7 separate regions of the Homo sapiens genome follow, and all the other regions are linked to region 6. The links are contacts of gene promoters, found by promoter capture Hi-C in blood cells and fetal thymus (Javierre and others, 2016). All regions are on one chromosome and are shown on one strand. Each heading gives the region's core, a stretch centred on a gene start or on the middle of the fragment in contact. The rest is flanking DNA. Distances are from core to core; before and after follow the strand shown.

The links. The method cuts DNA at HindIII sites, captures the fragments that hold promoters and counts their contacts. A CHiCAGO score of 5 or more calls a contact.
Region 1: a contact is called between a fragment that was not itself captured here and the fragment with the promoter of DYM in region 6, in 6 of 17 cell types (total CD8 T cells, naive CD8 T cells, non-activated CD4 T cells and 3 more). The highest score is 8.3, in total CD8 T cells.
Region 2: a fragment that was not itself captured here is called in contact with the fragment with the promoter of DYM in region 6 in 1 of 17 cell types (neutrophils); the score reaches 6.0 in neutrophils.
Region 3: a contact is called between a fragment that was not itself captured here and the fragment with the promoter of DYM in region 6, in 10 of 17 cell types (neutrophils, fetal thymus, naive CD8 T cells and 7 more). The highest score is 17.7, in neutrophils.
Region 4: a fragment that was not itself captured here is called in contact with the fragment with the promoter of DYM in region 6 in 1 of 17 cell types (total B cells); the score reaches 7.0 in total B cells.
Region 5: a contact is called between a fragment that was not itself captured here and the fragment with the promoter of DYM in region 6, in 3 of 17 cell types (neutrophils, monocytes and non-activated CD4 T cells). The highest score is 6.4, in neutrophils.
Region 7: a contact is called between a fragment that was not itself captured here and the fragment with the promoter of DYM in region 6, in 2 of 17 cell types (total CD8 T cells and non-activated CD4 T cells). The highest score is 5.1, in total CD8 T cells.

What each region holds. Positions count from the first base shown.
Region 1 is chr18:50,269,589-50,272,288 of GRCh38, reverse strand. MBD1 (methyl-CpG binding domain protein 1) reads left to right here. Exons shown (of 17, transcript NM_015846.4): 16 at 749-820; 17 at 2,471-2,700. The coding sequence ends at 788. Among named protein-coding and RNA genes, the nearest start is that of CFAP53, 4.4 kb to the right of the region's middle. The HindIII fragment of the contact is 1,766 bases long and covers 529-2,294 here.
Region 2 is chr18:48,768,888-48,771,587 of GRCh38, reverse strand. All of the region lies in intron 9 of CTIF (cap binding complex dependent translation initiation factor), which reads right to left. It overlaps LOC107985147 (a long non-coding RNA gene), which reads right to left. Exons shown (of 2, transcript XR_001753444.2): 1 at 1-2,700. Among named protein-coding and RNA genes, the nearest start is that of CTIF-AS1, 72 kb to the left of the region's middle. The HindIII fragment of the contact is 1,840 bases long and covers 359-2,198 here.
Region 3 is chr18:48,669,286-48,671,985 of GRCh38, reverse strand. CTIF (cap binding complex dependent translation initiation factor) reads right to left here. Exons shown (of 12, transcript NM_014772.3): 6 at 1,242-1,317. MIR4743 (microRNA 4743) reads right to left here and starts at 1,386; the gene lies at 1,318-1,386. The HindIII fragment of the contact is 6,169 bases long and covers 1-2,700 here.
Region 4 is chr18:50,379,880-50,382,579 of GRCh38, reverse strand. SKA1 (spindle and kinetochore associated complex subunit 1) reads right to left here. Exons shown (of 7, transcript NM_145060.4): 3 at 2,330-2,454; 4 at 354-451. Among named protein-coding and RNA genes, the nearest start is that of SKA1, 6.2 kb to the right of the region's middle. The HindIII fragment of the contact is 2,899 bases long and covers 1-2,700 here.
Region 5 is chr18:48,533,156-48,535,855 of GRCh38, reverse strand. No RefSeq gene overlaps it. Among named protein-coding and RNA genes, the nearest start is that of CTIF, 4.5 kb to the left of the region's middle. The HindIII fragment of the contact is 4,820 bases long and covers 1-2,700 here.
Region 6 is chr18:49,459,310-49,462,009 of GRCh38, reverse strand. DYM (dymeclin) reads left to right here and starts at 1,365. Exons shown (of 18, transcript NM_001353214.3): 1 at 1,365-1,612. RefSeq lists a silencer at 1,387-1,966. The HindIII fragment of the contact is 8,649 bases long and covers 1-2,700 here.
Region 7 is chr18:50,292,966-50,295,665 of GRCh38, reverse strand. No RefSeq gene overlaps it. Among named protein-coding and RNA genes, the nearest start is that of CXXC1, 6.6 kb to the right of the region's middle. The HindIII fragment of the contact is 1,003 bases long and covers 846-1,848 here.

The DNA.
Region 1 (2,700 bases), core at 162-2,661, 810 kb before region 6:
CTGGGTGGGCTGTTGCCTGACATTGAGCAATGTGTACCAGAGAAATGGTGCTGGGCTTGCCTGGGCAGTGGTATGGGCAGGAGATCTGGGTTCCGAGCTGGCTTTGTGAGCTGGGTTCACACGTAGTTGTGTGATCTCTGGTTGCCCTGCACTTCCTGGAGCGGCCTCTGTGGAAGGGCTTGGGCTGGATCTCTTGAGCCTTTCCTGAGCCTATTGAGGTTATTAACTTCAGATGCCTTGCAGAACTGTCCCTGTAGTCCTGGCATAGAACAAAGGGTAGATGCCTGTAAGGACTAGGGTGGTTGGGAGGACAGAGGAGTGCTGGCTCCTGCAGAATATTGACAGACCCTGCATAGAGCCCCAGACACTGGCGATGTAAACTATTGGCCTAAGCACTTGGATTCCTTTGCTCCTACAAACCAGCCCACCAGGCTAGAAACCCTTTCATCTATACTTGGCCAATTACAGAAGTATTGATTGAGTTCCTGTTGGGTGCACAGCATTGAGGACAATGAGCCCTGCAAAGCTTACCCTTCAGGAGACACAGGATACCTACCTTCAGGGAGCTTATAATCTGACTATGTACAAGCTGTCTATAATGGTAGTTTTTAGAAGATATAAAAAAAGATAAAGGATAATTAAGGGGAAGTGGATGGAGGACACAGAATAGTAGGAAATGGTTTTGTAATGCTCCATTGCGCACATAGCAAACCTCATTCAACATACAGACCTGCTCCCTTTTCCCTAGGTCCAAAGACCTTAAAAAACCTGGAGCTAGAAAGCAGTAGACTGGAGGCTTCTACAGACTGTAGGATTCAAGGTGATATTTGCAGACTGGCTTTATGAGAGACAACACTGATCTACTAGGGGCTGGACCCTAGATTGGTTGCCAGGGCTTGTGTGTGAATCAACCCTAGGAGGAAAAACCTACTACCAAACCAGAAGAGCAGGCCTAAGAGTACTTTGAGCTTCTAGAAGAAGTAAGCGGGAAAGGAAGAGAAAGAGTAGAAAGTTGGTGCATCTTCTCCTCCCCAAGAGCCTGAGTATAAGAAGTTGGATTTTAAGGGTGGGGGAGCTGGGTTGGAGAAAGGTAATATAATTAAAGCCACCACAAAACAACCTAAACAAGCCATGTTCATGAGTAATTGTAAGTGGCTTCTGGATGAGACCTGGCAGTGTCTCTACATACTTCCTCAGGGAGATAGCAATTGAAAATGTAATTGAATAAATAAGGAAAGGAACTGCTATTTGGTGTGTTCCTCTGTGGACCCAGTTTATTTAATCCTTAAAATAATATTTTTGGGAAGACATTGATTTTGTCCATTTATGTGGATGGGAAAACTGAGACTCATTAATTTGTCCAATGTCGAACAGCTGGTGTTAGTAGAGCCTAGACTCAAACCCAGCTTTTAAAGCCCTTGTTCTTTACTCCACTAAACTGTAACCTGTAATCCTGTATGCACTAACAGGAGTTTTCGGTGACCTTGAAAACACAGATTACTATAATTACTATAATAAATCCCTTACATTCCTGTCTCTAGCATGGTTTAGGGAGTGCCAAGGCTCAATGTAGATGGGGTCACCTTGTCAGAGCATCTGTTCATACAGAAACTGGGTTTCCTGCAGACCCCAGGTGCTGCATAGGATTCCTCAAACCCTACAGGATATATCTCCCCACTGGCTGCTGTCCATTTTGCTTGTTACCCTGACTCCCCCTCTTCAGCCAGAGCAGTCTTTGTAACTAAAGCTGCCAGCCTGGCTCATCTTTCCTGACAACGTGCATCTCCTGCCCTGTGATCACCTTTGTGCTTGGCTCCTGCCCTCAGCCTGAATGTGTTCTAGGAGGCTGAATTCCTGCTTCGAGTCCTGCCCAAGAGCCAGTCTTGGCTCAGCCCTACCTCACTCTCTCCCAATTCTTCATTCATAAAGTGCCAAAAAGATTAGACCTGTAATTTGTTAGCCAGCTTTACAGGGCCAGGACTGAGTGAGTGCCTCCTTAAACTTTGTATCCTGTGTGCCTCCCTTGCCTTACCCTAGTCCCAGCCCTGCAGCTTTAAGTAATTCAGACATGGATTAGCCATTTCCCAGTTCTGTCTCATACAGTCCAGCCTCTGCCACCTTCCCCACCCCTTCCTTTATTCCATCCTAACTAGTTCAGCCCTAGTCAAGACTGGATAGACTGATACTGCTTTGTTTCCCCCAGGAACCAACCACCCAACCCCAGTATTCTGGTAATTTTGACAATGATCTATATGAAATTTATTTGATTGACATTTAGACTCATGAGTTAAGCTTCTGCTGACCATTTATGTTAGGGTACAATCAGAGGAGCAGAACCACTAAGATAAAGATTATGTATATATGTATTTTAAGGGATTTATTATAGGGATCTGACCGCATGCCATTGTGGGAGCTGGTTAAACAGTCTCTGTAAGGCTGTTGTCTTTGCATCTAATGCTGGAGCTTGAAGTCTGCAGGGCAGGCACTCGGGAAGGGAAGATGGATGTAAAGTGTGGGAGACCGAGGACACAGTGGAGCCCACGAGCACGAGCTGGAACCCACGAGGATGGCCTGGAACCCATGTCAGTCTCTCACCACCTCCAGCTTCGATGATGTGGGTGTCCTGCAGAAGAAGCTGGTGCCCTTCCTCACAGAGTTAAATATGCATCTGGCCCAGGAATTAGAGAAGCTGAAAGGATG
Region 2 (2,700 bases), core at 29-2,528, 690 kb after region 6:
GATTTAGCAGGGAAAATGAACCCTGGGTGGGGGGTGAGGGCATGCAGGGAAGGGGACACGGTCTGGCAAGGGACACGGGTGATGGTGAAATAATTCCTGACCTGGGTAAAGCTCTCCTGGCCCAGAAGCGAGAGGGAGAAAACCCCAGGCCATTCCCTTTTGTGGCTGTGGCCTGTGCTATTCCCATGCCTGCCTATCCATGCTCCTTCCTCCCCAGTGAAGGAAGCTCCTGGAGCCAGCCAGCTGATGCCTGATGAATACCTTGTGGGTACCAGTATGGTGGTGGGACACAAAGATGACCCAGACGCATTCTTTGCCCCAAGACATCCACAGATACAAGTCTCAGATAAGAAAAGCTTAAACAGGGGAGCCCAGAAGACTTCATGAAAGGGACACATGGTAAATGTTCAAGAGTCAGAGGAAGGTGAGGTCCCTGGGCTGGGAGATCAGGGAAGGTTTCCTGGAGGAGGCAGATTTGACTAGGAGGAAGAGTACACCTGTCAATCCTGGGCCCACCGCCCAGGAAGACAATAGTCTAAAAGCACTCATTGCCTGCCCTCATTGTTCCACATTTAATCAGCGTAGGGGGGGGAAATGGAAATGCTGCCCAAGACTGAGGCATGGGGTGGTCTTTGGGAATCTAGGATGGGATAAAGTTAGAAGGGCCTCCCAGTTCATCCCACCAGGGCAGGGCACCCACACTGATGGAGCCATCCGAGTGGTGTGGCTCAGAGCTGGGGTCCGTGCATGCATTACCTCATTTAAGCTCTACCACAACCCAATCATCCCTTGCAGGACGGAAACGTGGGTGCAGAGACATGTTTTAAATGCTCAAGATCAGCATCGAGGCAGCAATCGATGCTACTGCACAGGTTTGCTACTCCTCAGGCCTCAGCGTTGCTGCCTCAGGGCAAGAAATCCTGTCTAGAGAAATGAGATTCGGGGGCACGACCCACACCTGTCTGCTCCAGATGGCCCAGCTGACCTGATTCATGAAGCTGCAGGCTGGTCTTGCTCTCCCCTCCTGAGCCACCCACGCTCCTAACAACACAGGGCAATGGCCACTTTTCACGGGAAAGGAGTGACTTTTGTCCAAGGCTCCCTCAGCCTCTGCACATCTAGAGTCTCTGACAAGGCCTGCAGTAGACTGCCCATGAGACTTGTAAAAGCCCATGCCGTGCACAGAAAGGCACTTTGGGCTTTCTCAGGAGCGGGGCTCTCTGTGATTTTGAAGAACACAGTAGTGGCGCAGTGGCGCAGTGGCACAGTGGCGCAGTGGCAAAGAGGCAGGAAGCTGGGCACTTGGTTTTGCAGGAAGCTCACTGGTCCCTGGGGGCCTGGGGCAGTAGTTGGCACAGCAGCAGCACCCAGGCCCCCCTGATGATATGATGACTGGACACCTGGCATGCTGCTGTTCTGGGCACTTTCCAGGACTGGCTGAGGATCAGTGGTCATTTTCTTTCCTCGCTTATTTTCAGATTCAAAAATCAAAATGCTTGTTTATGATCCGGTCATCGGCTGCTCTGTCTCACTGAGCACTTCAAAGCTCCAGAGAGAACCACAGGCTTAGCACTCCTGGAAGCCACATGTTCCCCCGCCCCACCCAAACTGAACAGTCAGGGCGATCTGGTCTAAGCACTGACATTGAGGTATCCCACCTGGGTCCTTGAATGCAATGCTTAAGATTTGCACAAACAGATTGAAAGACCACAGTGGAGGGCAAATGAACAGAGACATACAGGACCTGCCACAGTGCATGGTATATAGCAGGTGCTCAATAAGCGTTGAGAAGAAATAAAGATTGGAGAAAAGCAGGTCATATTTACTCATCCCAAAGCAAGTGCAGACAACAAGATTGGCAACGAGGCACACGGCTCCTATCCACTGTGGCTCTGGCCGCAGGGGCAAAGAACATGGATAGGAGTCAGGCATTGGCTCTTCCTGTTGGGGGAGCCCAGGGCTGCCACAGAATCCTGGGCAGGGGTCAAGCTCCTGTGACTGCTGGCCTCCTGTGATGCCAGGCCAGCCTGACGAGGCCTGTTGGTGCCCACCTTCAGGGAAATGTGTGTGCCAACTCTGCATGTCCCTTGCAGGGCACGGGCTTCAGCATGGGGACAGATGGCCCACAGGGGGCAGGGCGGGAGCTCAGATGCCAGCCATTTTTAGAAAAACAGCCCTTTTCTGGGCTTTTGCAAGCTTCCGTGCAGCCTGCCCACGGGGAAAGCGGCTTGCACTGCCTCTGGCCCTTTGCTTCAGCCTTTCTGATTTCTAGCAACTAGTGGAGGGGAGCTCGATGTGGGTATGGCCAGGGCTTTTGCTCAAGCTTTGGAATGCACAGAACAATGTGCTTCTATCCCTGGGTGTGCCTGGCTTGGGCCAACATTAAAATTAGTTTACATGCCTGGAGTGCACATCGGCTCAGCGGTGGGTGTGCAGAAATGAGGGAGGGGGTCTGAGAAGAGGGAGAGGATGCAAGGAGGAGATGGGAACTGGGGCCAGCAGCCTGTGTGGTTTCACAGGGACTAGGGCGAATGGAGAGTGCAGGGGTTTCTTCAGGTACCCTTGACCTCCAGAGGCCCAGAAAGCTCAGAGACTCAGCGACCCCTGGAAACACAGTGGGATTATTCCACAGGGTGGATTTTGAAATCCCAATTGATGACTTCCTGAGATGGATTCTTTTTTGTTTTTTAGAGTCTCACT
Region 3 (2,700 bases), core at 103-2,602, 790 kb after region 6:
CTTATTAAAAAAGCCCACAATGACCTTCGAGAGATAAAAACTACAATGTCTGAAATGAAAAATATACTGAATGGGATTAACAGTAGATTTGACACTGGAATAAAATATTAGTGAACTTGAAGAAATAGCAATAAAAGCTATCCAAAATGAAACACAGAGAGTAAAGAAAGACTTTAAAAAATCAGGCAGAGCTTTGGTGAGCCATGGGAAAAGATGAAGAAGCATAGAATACATACAATTGGAACCCCAGGGTTGAGGGAAAGTAGGAGGAATCGTGGCTGAAAATTTTCCAAATTTGATGAAACTATAAACCTACAGATCCAAGAAACTCAATAAATCCCAAGTGGGAGAAACATGAAGAAAACCACCACACCAAGGCACATCATAATCAAATAGATGAGGTCTTAACTGTATGCTCTATTGTCTCTCATTGATAGGCCCAAGGCATGAACAGAGAAGAAACAAAATGGCAAAGGCACCAGGAAGAGATGAATGGATATAGATAAAATAGCAGGAGAAGAATCAGGAGAGAAGGGAAGGGTGGCACAGTGGAGTGTGGTGGTAGGTCATGGTCACTGGCAGCGGCAGACTCAGTCACTGTGGAAGGTCCACTGCTTTTACACCCCTGCAGCAGGCCCAGTCACACTCCTGAGAGCAGCTAGACTCCTGCTGTTTCCACCAAAAGTCCAGCACTATAAGTATCTAGAGACCTGGATTCACTGAGTGAATCCTCTTTGTCCTGGAACCTGGCCTGATTCCAGGAAAGAGGCCCAATCAATAAAAAAAAGAGCAAGCATAGCAGACACCTGGAGGCCAGCAGGGCAAGTCCACTGTTCAAAAGCCTAAAGACAGCCCCAGCCACATTAGAATCTCTTCCAGGCCTGCCAGTCCCACCTGAACACACCACAGGACACTTCACCTGCAGAGAGGTTTCAGGCCAAGGGACAAAAACTTCCAAGTTCACTGAGTTGCCAGGGCATGGTCTATTTCATCTCTAGGGCACATCAGGCCTGCCAGCAGGGCCTGCAGCATCACCGAGTAGGCTGTCACACACACGATCACAATGGGACACCCTGGAGAATGGCAGGTAGCCAGCCCTGCCTATTACTACCATACAGGCGGTTACACTCCTTGCTGGAACAAGCAGCCAGAAGGAGTGCTTTGGTTAGGTCCTGTCCAGGAAGAGGATCAGGACTCCAGGGGTGGGGGTGGGCTGTTAGAGAGCCTGCCCCTGCACCTACCTGCCAGGCTGGAAGGACCTTCTCGATGTCATTCAGGTTGATGCCATCCCCATCTTCCAGCTTCCCTTTGCCACACCTGGACCAGAAAAGACAGAAAGGCATTGGAAAGATGGCTCATTCATGCCTCCTGTCCCATCCGGCCAGCAGGAGAGGAGGGACAGTCAGCAGATACCTGGTGCTGCCCACCCTCAAGCCCTGCAGGGGCTGTCCCACCTAGAGGAAACAGCCCTAGAGAAGCTGTGTGTGTGTGGGGGGGGGGTCCTCCCGTAATGCAACAGCCAACCTGGAGGGAGGTGGGAGAGGAACCAGAGTTCCCCTTGCTCCTTCCAGGCAGAGAAGCTAAGCTCCTTACTCATCACAACTCCTGTCAAAGCCCATCCACCTTGCCCCATTACACTGAACAGAAGATCAGTGGACAGAGACACCAAGCAACTTTCTCAAGGTCACATAGGCTGGCAGGGGCTAGCAGAAAACCCAATAGGGCTTCCTTCCTTTTTGGCTTGACTCTGGGTCAGTCCAGCAAGCCCACTCAGATAGTCTATGCTTTGTCTTCATGTCCTCTGTGAGTGGGCGTGCCCTCGGGCCAGAGAGGCTGGCCCCAACTCCCTGGCCAGAGGTCTGAATCTTTGGCATATTTAAGGGTGCAGATTCCGAAACCAGACTCCCAGGGTTTGAATCCCCGCTGCATCCCTTACCAACTGGGGACCCTGTACAAGTTGTTTAACCTCTCTGTACTCATTTCATCAAATGAGTTTCCTCATTTGTTAAATGAGGATAATAGTGTCTAACATCTTAAGGTGGCTGGAGGATTAAATTAATGAATGTATCTGGAGTGCTTAGATGCTTAGAACTGTGACAGCCCACAGTAAACGGTACATATATACACACATATATAGTCTAGCTTATATATATATATATATATATATATATATATATATATATATATATATAAATGTTTAGCTTGTTTGTTTATAAATGTGTGTGTGTATATTTCTTGTGTATGTATTATTATCTGTATTTACCATTAAATATATCTTAAACATACACACATATGTTTAATGGTAAATACTGGTAATAATAACAAAATTAAAATAAATAATGAAGTAAATATATTGCTACTACTATGACTACTTTCATTACCACTAATATTGTTGCTGTTGTTTAGGCAAAGAGGCAGGAGGGTGATTAATTAAGGACACAGATTCTGGAGCCAACCCAGCCTCATGCAAATTACTCAATTTCTGGGTCTCCTAGTTGCTTCATCTATTGAAGAGAAGATGGTAACAGTTCCTCCCTCTCTGGGTGGTGGCGAGTTTTAAATAAATGAGGCAAACACTTAGAACAGAGGCTGGAGCATGGCCGGTGCATAGTAAGTATTGTCAGTTACTATTATTACTGGTATTGACTGAGGAATGGTGAGAGATGTCCCATGAGTTGGGTCATTTTCCAGCTGCAGAGT
Region 4 (2,700 bases), core at 67-2,566, 920 kb before region 6:
AGAGATCAAGAACACTACTCAATGTCCTATTCTCATAACAAAAAATTAACCTGCCTAAAATGTCAAGGAACAAACGTCAGTTGACAAACTGCTCTCAGGGAAAGAAATGAGTGAAAAAAGAGAGGCTAGAGAGACTTGCCCTTGGCAAACTGGGAAAGAAGTGTTAGATTTTCCTCAGAGACACCAAGATAAGAAAACTGGTGAACATGGAAATACTGTTTTTAGTATAGGTGACAAAAAACTAGATCATCGCTGACAAAACTGCAAGTATATGAAAGAACAAAAGGCTTTGAAGAACTTGTTTTCATGGGTTTATAAATCCAGATAGCAAGAATAATTATAAATACACTTACCAGCTCTGGGTTACTGTTACTTGAGGCAAATGGGAAGGAACGTTTTCTTTAAGATGTTCTATGTCTTTGTAATCTTCTTCAAGAGATTCACAGAGTTCCTAAAATTTAAAAGTGCTCACAAATAAGTCTCTGTCCTCCCCATGTGTGTTTTAAGATATTCTAAAGAGCAGGGAAAACAGTGAACCATAATCACAGTGACTGTGGCTGGACGCGGTGGCTCATGCCTGTAATCCCAGCACCTTGGGAGGCTAAGGCGGGTGGATCATGAGGTCAGGAGATCGAGACCATCCCCACTAACACTGTGAAACCCCATCTCTACTAAAAATACAAAAATTTAGCCGGGCGTGGTGGCACGCGCCTATAGTCCCAGCTACTCAGGAGGCTGAGGGGGGAGAACTGCTTGAACCTGGGAGGAGGAGGCTGCAGTGAGCTGAGATCGCGCCACTGCACTCCAGCCTGGGCGACAGAGAAAGGCTCGTCTCAAAAAAAAAAAAAAAAAAAAACCACATTGACTGGAGTACCGAAAATGCAGAATGAAGTGAAAAAGCAATGAATCCAGCAATAAAAAATTGGTTTCTAGAGCTGTTTTTGGATGGTGGTAATATTTTTCTCTACTGGATTTTTTTCAGGGAACAATCACTATAATCACATTGCAATTACAAAGCAGGACTAAAGTTAAGTCTTTCTCAAATACTTTAATCTTGGGAGATAACTAAGAAATATATAAAGAACTTATGTTTTTCATTCTCATAAATTGCGTTTGTTGGCTTACCAAATGCTCCCCAGTGTTACCTGTGTAACAGCAACCATATTATCACAGCATGGTAATATACCCAGCTGGCAAGCATGAGATGCTGCTTTAGGATGACTTCCACTGTGGGCTACCTACATGCCAGCTTAATGAAAATTTCTACTTGAAAGCTGGGGTGTTTTGGTCTCTAACTTTTACTAGAACTTGAGGCTATGAACTCATACACATTTTAATAAGGAAAATATTTTGTGCCTTTGGATTCCCGCCATCTGGCTCCCAATCACAATGTGAACAGAAATTCCAAATAGCCTTCAGTTCTGAGTTGAGCATTCTCTAGGCCCACACCTAACCCTGGACATTCTTGGGCAGGTTAGAACTGAAATGCCGGTATTGGTTTCTGTTTTGAATTTATATAATGTCTTTTCCTTGAAGAGGTGAATGACATTCATGGATACCAATTCCATTTTGACTATTAGAGTGATAGGCATAATCATGCCCATTCCTATAGCTGAACAATCTTTACAGACTTTAAGGATTATAAGGCTGAATGGGGTCAGGGAGGTCCCTTGTTCAATCCCACTGAGCAATTCCCCAGCTCTAACAATGTGAGGTAATTATGGTACAGATTATTTCCCCCTCAGGAAGTGCACCAGCACTTTTATTAGCTGAACTCAATTTGAAGGCTTGTTTAGAATAAAATGTGCATGTGAATGAGGCTCAAGTTTTTCTTTACCTGAGAACCCTTATATTACCTTTTATAAAAATATAGAAATATAGACATATAAGGGAGCTAAGAAACAGTTCAATATGATCCATTATTTTTTCAGATGAGGTTCTTGAAACCCCAACAGGTAAAATAGCTTTCTCAGGGTGGCAGAGAGTACCAAGGACCACCAAGGTAAGAATCCATATCTCCTCACCCAAAGCAGGTGTTCTTTACATACCACTCTACTAGAACATCATTGTTTAAATTAAAGCTACCAAGAATTATTAGCAAACTCTCCTTTTTAGTAAAGTTCAATTCCACTGGCCATCAGCAGAAAGTAGCAGCTGTGGAGCTCCAAATTCCACTATACTAGGAAAATAAAACATAAATGGCATACTGTACCATTAATAATTTATAAACAAAAAACATTATAAACAAAGCATCCTTAAAAATTACTTAATGATTAGGGAGTTTGTATGTATTGTCTTTTTTACTGCTTCCTCATTAGAGAAACATTACCTTGAGTGAATTGTTGGTTTGTTCTTGATACTGAATTTCCAATTCCAATTTATTTAGAAGTTCATTTATTACAATGATCTCATCTCCTATTTTATTTAATACAGTTTTCAAGGTAGGTTCCTGGCCTGTTATAAACAAAAATAAAATAGAAAACAAAGTGTATAGAAAAGCAGTAGCTATAAGTACTCATGCGAACTCTTAGAATAGATAGCTGTACCTTAGAGAGGGGTGGAAAAAGGTCTACTGCTTTAGCCCCTAGAAAATGACTCCATGGACAATCCTGAAACCTCATTTCTAAGTAGTATGGAACAGAAGGAGGCGAGAGGCAAGGACAATGTCTCTCCTGCGTCTTTTGTTTCTGGCAAATTCTT
Region 5 (2,700 bases), core at 196-2,695, 930 kb after region 6:
TTGGTTTAATTGTGACCGATTTTGAGTGGCCAGGAGTTTCCCTGTCTGCCTAGAAATGAAAAGTCAGAATGTTTCTGTTTGTTTTAAGGAGTTGCTTCTCCTCATTCACACTTGCCTAAGATAATAGCAAAAAGTACTAGTTCTCCTTTCTTGCCATGACTTCTCTCCACTCACCCCCGTAGCCATAGCTGTTCCAGGGAAAAGTTACTGGTCAGTCCACACATTGACTGAAGGCCTGGTGGGAGCCTAGGTAGGTGCTGGGGGAGAGAAGCTACCTACCTTCAGGAGCTGAGACCAGGCTGATGCCCAGCAGATAACAGGAAAATGAATGAAGCGCTCCACTGTGTGAGAGTGATGTCAAATGAACTAAGAGTTCCCAGTCGGCTACAAGGATCAGAGAAGGCTTCTGGGAGGAAGGTGGGGCTACATCCACTTGTTACTTCCCACTGGGAGAAGGTCAGCAGTGGCCAAAATTCCTGTTATGCGGTGTTGGCCCAGGAGGCATTGCAGAACTAGTGACTTACTGTGGGAGCTAGAGAGTGGCTTCATCATGCAGTTTGGAGGCCACTGACAGTGCAGAAGGAAGGAAGTTGGTAGTCTAGTGTCTACGCTCTGTTACCGTGGTGTTGGCCTGGAGAGATAACAGCTTGATAGAACCAGGTGAAATTTCACCCATGCCTCATCTCACCTTCCACTACACAACCCCAAAGACCAACACCTGAAAGGCACATGCAAAGTGATCCCCTAAGATTGAAGTCGGTGGTAGAGAAGGGATGTGAATAGAGAACAATGAGCTTGAGAAAAGCAAAAGCAGAATATGAAATAAAGCAATTGAATATTTGTTGGGACAATGCTGTGCCTAAGACATGGCAAGGTACTCTGGGGAACACAGTGTGTGAAACGGGATCCCGGGTCCCACCTGCCCCTCTCCTGCTGTGTGACGTTTCCTGTCTCTGGGCCTCAGTTTCCACACCTGTAAAATGAGAAGGTTGGCCTCAATGATCTCTAAGATCTTCACCACACCTGAAATTCTCCCTTCAAGAATGTTATAATCTCACTGGCAAAAGAAGCAAGAAAATTAAGTAGCCAAAAGGATGAATTTTAAGCTGTTTAATTCCAGCAGAGCAGGAAAGGTTTGTAATATTTGTTAAACAAAGCCCTGAAGTCCATGAGGGAATATAAAATAAGCAGATTTCCTTTTGCAAGATTTAAGGACATGGACTGATTCAATGTCAGCCTGTGAGTCATCAGACATTCCTCAAGTCTCCCAGAGTTCAAGGTCAGACCTCCTAAGTCGGTGGCGTGAGCACCACAGCCTTGTTCATGGTGAAGGCCTGGACAAAGATACACCCCACATCTCTGCAAGAGACAAGTTTCCTTGTTTGCCAGTCTACACTCTAAAAAAAATGGGAGGGGAAGGCAGTGCTGATCACACCACAGGTATACACCCGATCTATGGGATCTTGGGCTAGGCTGGACTTGAGTGGATGTGGCTCCATCAGAGGAACTGAGCCAATCAGAATTCCTCTTGTAAGAATCTGAAGTAAGAGGCTGAGAAACCTCTCTCTGCTCATTGGTGATGGCTGCTCAGGTCAAGGCTTGTGTTTTAGGTGGGTCGAGTGCAAGATAAGTAAGCAGAAGAAGTGAGTGGAGGGGGGAAAGAGGAGGGAGAGGGAAAGAGACATGTTTAGAGTAGCCTCAGTTCCTTACCTTTTCAGTTCTCCCTCACTATGCCTCTCTTGGACTCCATATACCTCTGCGATATCATTTGGATCTGTGTTCCCTCTGAATCTCATGTGGAATTGTAATCCTCAATGTTGGAGGTGGGGCCTGGTGGGACGTGGTTGGATCATGGAGGTGGATTTCTCATGAATGGTTTAGCACCATTCCGTTGGTGCTATCTTCACAATAGTGAGTGAGTTCATGTGAGATCTGGTCATTCAAAAGTATGTGGCACCTCCCCACCTCTGTCTCTCTCTCTCTCTCTCTCTCTCTCGCTTCTCCTTTCACCATGTTACTTGAAAGCTCTCATTTCACCTTGCACCATGAGTAAAACTTCCTGAGGCCTCCCCAGAAGCAGATGTCAGTGTTATGCTTCCTGTACATCCTGCAGAATCATAAGCCAATTAAACCTCTTTTCTTATAAATCACTTAGCCTTAGATATTTCTTTATAGCAATGCAAGAACAGCCTAATACACTCCATATTCTTGTAGTAATCCCCTTTAATTTGCGCTAGGTTGAGTGACTTCCGATCTTTGTAGTTTGAAGAGCCACATCTAGAACAGCCTGAAAGACAGGAAGTGCAGAGAGAGGAGTTAGGCCAATATGATCCCTCTAGCTGGGACTGTCCCCCTGCTGAAGATGCCCTTCCGTTTTCTATCCCAGGTGTCTCCCTCTTCAGTCAGTTTATAAATCCTGTCTGCTCAAGTCTTGTTCTGAAATATCTGCAAAATAATTGCCCTTGAGCCTTCCAGGATCTCTAAGTCCCCTTTCAAAGAACAATAGCTACTATATTAATTGAGCTATTACTATTTACAGAGCAACAAGCGAAACTTTTTTTGTGTGCTTTGTCTCACTTAGTTGGCAAAGCAACTTTTACAGGGGAACAAACTGAGACCGGAAGGGGTGAAGTAGCTTACCAAGGGGCACGCAGCCAGTGGGTAGGTGGTGGTCTACCCAGAGCTGTGGGCCTCAGAGCC
Region 6 (2,700 bases), core at 116-2,615:
ATCAGCCTCCCGAGTAGCCGGGACCGAGGGTGTGCCAACCACTCCCAGCTAATTTTTGTATTTTTTGTTGAGACAGTGTATCGCTATGTTGCTCAGGCTGGTCCTTCCGAACTCCTGGGCTCAAGTGATCCTCCCACCTTAGCCTCCCAAAGTATTGGGATTACAGGCATAAGCCACAGGGCCCAGTCTACTTTGGGTTTTAATATGTTTTCCTGTCATAATTCTGCAAGCTCAGTGAATTTACTGGCAGTCTATGCTAGAAAAGAATACCTAATATTTGTATAGTACTTTACAGAGTACACTGGCACATATTGACTATATAATGGGAATAACGGTGCTATCTGTTCCATAGGGTCATTTTGCGAAATAATAGTGCATGGCAAATAGAAAATAATCCATAATGTGAATTGTTATTACTACAGTCATGTCAACATTTCCTGTAATGGCAGAATCATCATCATGCATATATTTTAGGTGAGGAAACTGGCTGAGAGAGGTGAAGTAATTGCTCAAAGACGTCAGTGTGGAAACCTCAGCTCATTTGACTTCAAATTCCATAGTTTTGGCACTATCTCATATTGCTACTCTTTCCCGTGGGACCTGTCCTTTCCGACAACTTTGCAGGCAGGGCTAGCCCTGCCAGCTGCCTCCATCAAAAATTATTTTGCTATTTCTCAATTCTCCAGAATCCCACACAATATTGCTTGACTTTGGGATGGTTATTCAGCTGCAATTAACAGAGGCCTTAATAAGGTTAAGCCGCCAGAACGAGCGGTGTAGCATGAGCGAGGACTCTAGCACCTGGCAGGTGAGGTTGACTCTAGCACCCGGCAGGTGAGGTTTTTGCGCTTCTCTCTCTCTCTCTTTTTTTTTTTTTGAGAAGAGTCGAGCTCTGTCGCAAGGCTGGAGTGCAGTGGCCCGATCTCGACTCACTGCAATCTCCGCCTCTCGGGTTCAAACGATTCTCCTGCCTCAGACAGCTACTTTTTGACTCACTGCAATCTCCGCCTCTCGGGTTCAAACGATTATCCTGTCTCAAACAGCTACTTTTTGTATTTTTAGTGGAGACGGGGTTTCACCATGCTGGCCAGGATGGTCTCGATCTCCTGACCTCGTGATCCGTCCACCTCGGCCTCCTAAAGTGCTGGGATTACAGGCGTGAGCCACCGCGCACGGCTGTTTTTGCGCTTCTCGATTTCGCCACGTGGCTTTGCGGTAGCCCAGGAGGTACTAGGAGGGCGGAGGCACGAATAACACCCAAAGGACTACAGTTTCCAGAAGCCCGCGCGCGCCGCGTGCCACGTGACCACCTGGCTGGCGCGCGCGCCTGGGGGTCTGGTCCCTAGCCGCGTTCTCGGTCGCTTCCCTCTTCTCTCGCCGCCTCCTGGCCTCCGCACCGACGCGGCCCGGGCTGGAGCCGAGCCGGGGCCGAGCTGCAGGCCGGACCGGAGCCGGATCTGTACCCGCTGAGACGTGGAAACATGGAGGCCTGAGCCGGTGTGCGCCACCTGGGCTGCGGCGGCGACAGCGACTTCTCCTGACCCCTCTGCCACCCTCCCATCCGTCCGCGGGTCCGTGGAGCTGGAGCAGATCCCCCAGCCGGCTGAGACAGGTGGGCTGTAGCGCCGCCCCCCTCAGCGCGGCCGGGCCCGAAAGCCTGGCTGTCCCCGGCCTCCTGTCAGAGGGGGTCAGGGGCCACCCTCCGCAACCCGGCCAGCGCCCCGGGGCGGCGGCGAAGGGACCCTCCCTTCCCTGCCCGCGGGCGCCTGGGCCACCCGGAGGGGCTGTGCTGACAGCGGACGGACCTCTGTCCGAGTCCGCTGTTGGGAGTTGGGGGATACCGAAGGCCAAGTCGGTGCTTCCGGAGATGGGGCGGTGTTGGTCTGACAAATGGGCGTGTGATGGGCAGGGTGAGCAATAGCTGTTGGGTTTTTCTTTCTTCTTTTTACATTCATAGTTTATCGAGGTATAACTAACATATCAGAAAATTAACCCTTTAAAAGTACAACTCAGTGGTTTTTAGTATATTCACAGGGTTGAGCAGCCATCACCACCCTTAACTCCAGAGCATTTTTAATCACCGCCCCCCCCGCCCCAAAGAAGCTCGTACCCATTAGCAGTCACTCCTCCTTCTCTCCCCTACACTATTGATCTACTTTCAGTCGCCGTGGATTTGCCTGAGCAATTGTGTTTTGACTGAAAAGTGAAAGGGTGGGTGTTTGTGAACTGGGGGCAGTAGTGGGGTTTGAGGGTATTGGTGTGGTAAAGCTGATTGGATAAAGCTGTTCTCTACTGAACAGGGGTAGAGAAGTGATGGGATGATTGTAATCGGCCAGCAAAGCGGGTACCCAGGATAGACTGATTAGGGGGCACAGATGGAGTGAGTTCCTTGAAAGAGGAGAGGGGAAGTTGGAGAGAGGGGTGTGTAGAGCAAGGGTGATGTGCTGAAGGATGAAAACCTGGAGGGTGGAGGCCGTGGAGAGGAATGTAGCGTCCACCAGAGGAACTCAGGTGCTTAGGCTGATGAGTTGAGGGCTCAAGAGAAGAACGAGGTGGAAGGGAAGAGAATCTATAGGAATGGGTGAATGGTTGTTGCAGAGGATGAAATTTATGAATATATGGATTTCTGGAGTGATTATCCTGCTTTGAAGTTTTATTTTAGATAATCCTCTCAGCAACTTGGAGATAGACCGGACAAGT
Region 7 (2,700 bases), core at 98-2,597, 830 kb before region 6:
GAGAATTATCATTGGGATCGTGAACACTTTTACTCTCCCCTAGACTCCCAGGATAGTTGTCCCCTTGCTATGTGTAGTGTGTGACATGGAAAAGGGGATTGGCCCAGGCAGGAGACAGTGCCTGAATAGGTGGTTAACCAGCCATGTGTTCCTGGGTTCCTGCTGCTCTAAGTGACTCTTGAGATTTTCCTGAGCCTGCTTGATTTGATTGTAATTGAATTGTGAGAACTTGCTGTGTAGAGTTGGTCCTGCAGGCTTGGAAATGGGAACAGCAGGTACCTTCAAGGACAGAAACAGTGAAGGAGGCCTGGGGAATGCTGCGTGCTGCAGATTATTGATGGGCCTTCCACAGTACTCCAGACGAAGGCAACTTAAACTGTTGGTCAAGCACCTCTATTCTGTTGTTCCTTCAAACCAACCCCGAGAAGCCACATTAAAAACCCCCTTTGCACATAGACAATTACAGAGATGGTAATGAAACCAATTCTGTGTTCACAGCACTGCAGGAAACACAACTGTGGATTCAATTCACCTTGTGTGGTTTACTCTTCAAGAGATGCTTAGTTCTTACCTTCAGGGAGTTTATAATTTCATTGAGGAAACAACTTGCTCATATATGAAACCATTGCAGATTAACAAAATTACAGGAGTGTTCTGGTGTCTGTAACGGCAACTTTTGGAAGAGAACACAGGGATAATCAAGAAAAAAAATTATCATGAACACAGACCAGTACCAAAGGGTTTTATAATGCTCCATTTTGTGTATGACAAACCTCAGATTTGCTCTGTCTTCTGTAGGACCAAGGACATCATGATCTGGGGCTAAAAAACACAAACTGGAAGCTTCTGCAGGCTATAAAATTCAAGGTGATATTTACAGATGAGCTTTGCGATGGATAGAAACTGACCTATTCAGGATAGAAATTGGTTCGTAGGAGTTGGGTAGGAATAAAAAGTAGAAGAATCTACCACCAAACCAGAGAAGCAAGCCTATTTAATTCTTTTTGGTTTTTTCAGAGGGCGTAAGTGGGAAAGGAAGAAGTCAGATTAGAAAACTGGTGCACTTGTTCCTCTCTAGGAACCTGAGTGTGATAAGAAATGTGGGCCAGGTGCGGTGGCTCACACCTGTAATGCCAGCACTTTGGGAGGCTAAGGTGGACAGATCACCTGAGGTCAGGAGTTCGAGACTAGCCTGGCCAACATGGTGAAACCCCATCTCCACTAAAAATATACAAATTAGCTGGGTGTGGTGGTGGGCACCTCTAATCCCAGCTACTCAGGAGGCTGAGGCAGGAGAATCACTTGAACCTGGGAGGCGGAGGTTGTAGTGAGCTGAGATTGCATCACTGCACTCCAGCCTGGGTGACAAAAGTGAGACTCTATCTAGAAAAAAAAAAAGAAATGTGGCTGTTAGGGACGGGGAAGCTGTAGTAGGGAGGGAGCAGATTAGAATTAAAGCTACTAAACAAGTCCTCCTCATCAATGATATTAAATGACTGGTTCATGACATTTGGCAGTCTTTAAACATTTCAGAGACATCAGCTTGAAAGTATAATATATGAGGAAAAAGGATATTTGTGTCAGGTGTCCTAAGACCATCCTCAGGTTCAATGACTCACTAGAAGAACACACAGAATACAAAAACACTGCTAAGCTCCCAATTAGTTTGTTACAGCAAAAGAATACAGATTGAATGAGCAAAAAGGCTCATAGGCTATAGTACAGGAAAGACCATGCTTCCAGTTCTCCTCTCCTAGAGGAGTCATATAAACAGCACTTAATTATCCCAGAAACAGTGTTGTGATAACATGAATGAAGTATTGCAAACCAGGGAAGCTCATCCAAGCTTTGGTGTCCAGGGTTTTTATTAGGGGATTGGTTACATGAGTATGGAGGGTGCCATTGCTGACCTTGGTTACTCAGTCTCCGGCCTCTCCAGAGTTCATATTGATACCCTGTGGCCCAAGGTCCCCACCACAAATCACATTGCTATCATAAACTATCTGGTGTGGACCAAGATCCTAGGTAAATATAAACATTCTTTTTTTCTTTTTGAGACAGAGTCTTGCTCTGTCATCCAGGCTGGAGTGCAATGGCGTGATCTGGGCTCACTGCAGCCTCCACCTCCTGAGTTCAAGCAATTCTCCTGCCTCAACCTCCTGAGTAAGTGGGATTACAGGCACCCGCCACCACACCTGGCTAATTTTTGTATTTTTAGTAGAGACAGGGTTTACCCATCTTGGCCAGGCTGGTCTTGAACTCCTGACCTCAGGTGATCCACCCACCTTGGCCTACCAAAGTGCTGGGATTACAGATGTGAGCCACTGTGCCCAGCTGAACATTCTTATTAGGCAAGTAATTCTGAGCACTTTAAGGTTATCTCCCAAGAGCCAGTCAAATATCAGATTTTTTTTTCATGTGAAGGTTTGAACAACCAAGGCCTGCTGAGTTAATCTTTTACCGCATGGCACTATTTGGAGAGTTCCCATTCTGGACCTAATTCATATTATTCTCTCAGATGTCTTTCTAGGAGGATGTTAATTTTGCCCATTTTTATAGATGAGAAAAAGTTCTCAGAAAGATTAACTACACTCTGCAATGTAAAGCAGCTAGTATTAGTAGAGCCTAGAATCAAACTCAAGCTGTAACACTTTGTTCTTGAAGGCATGAACTGTAAAATATACCTCTAAAAACTATGAC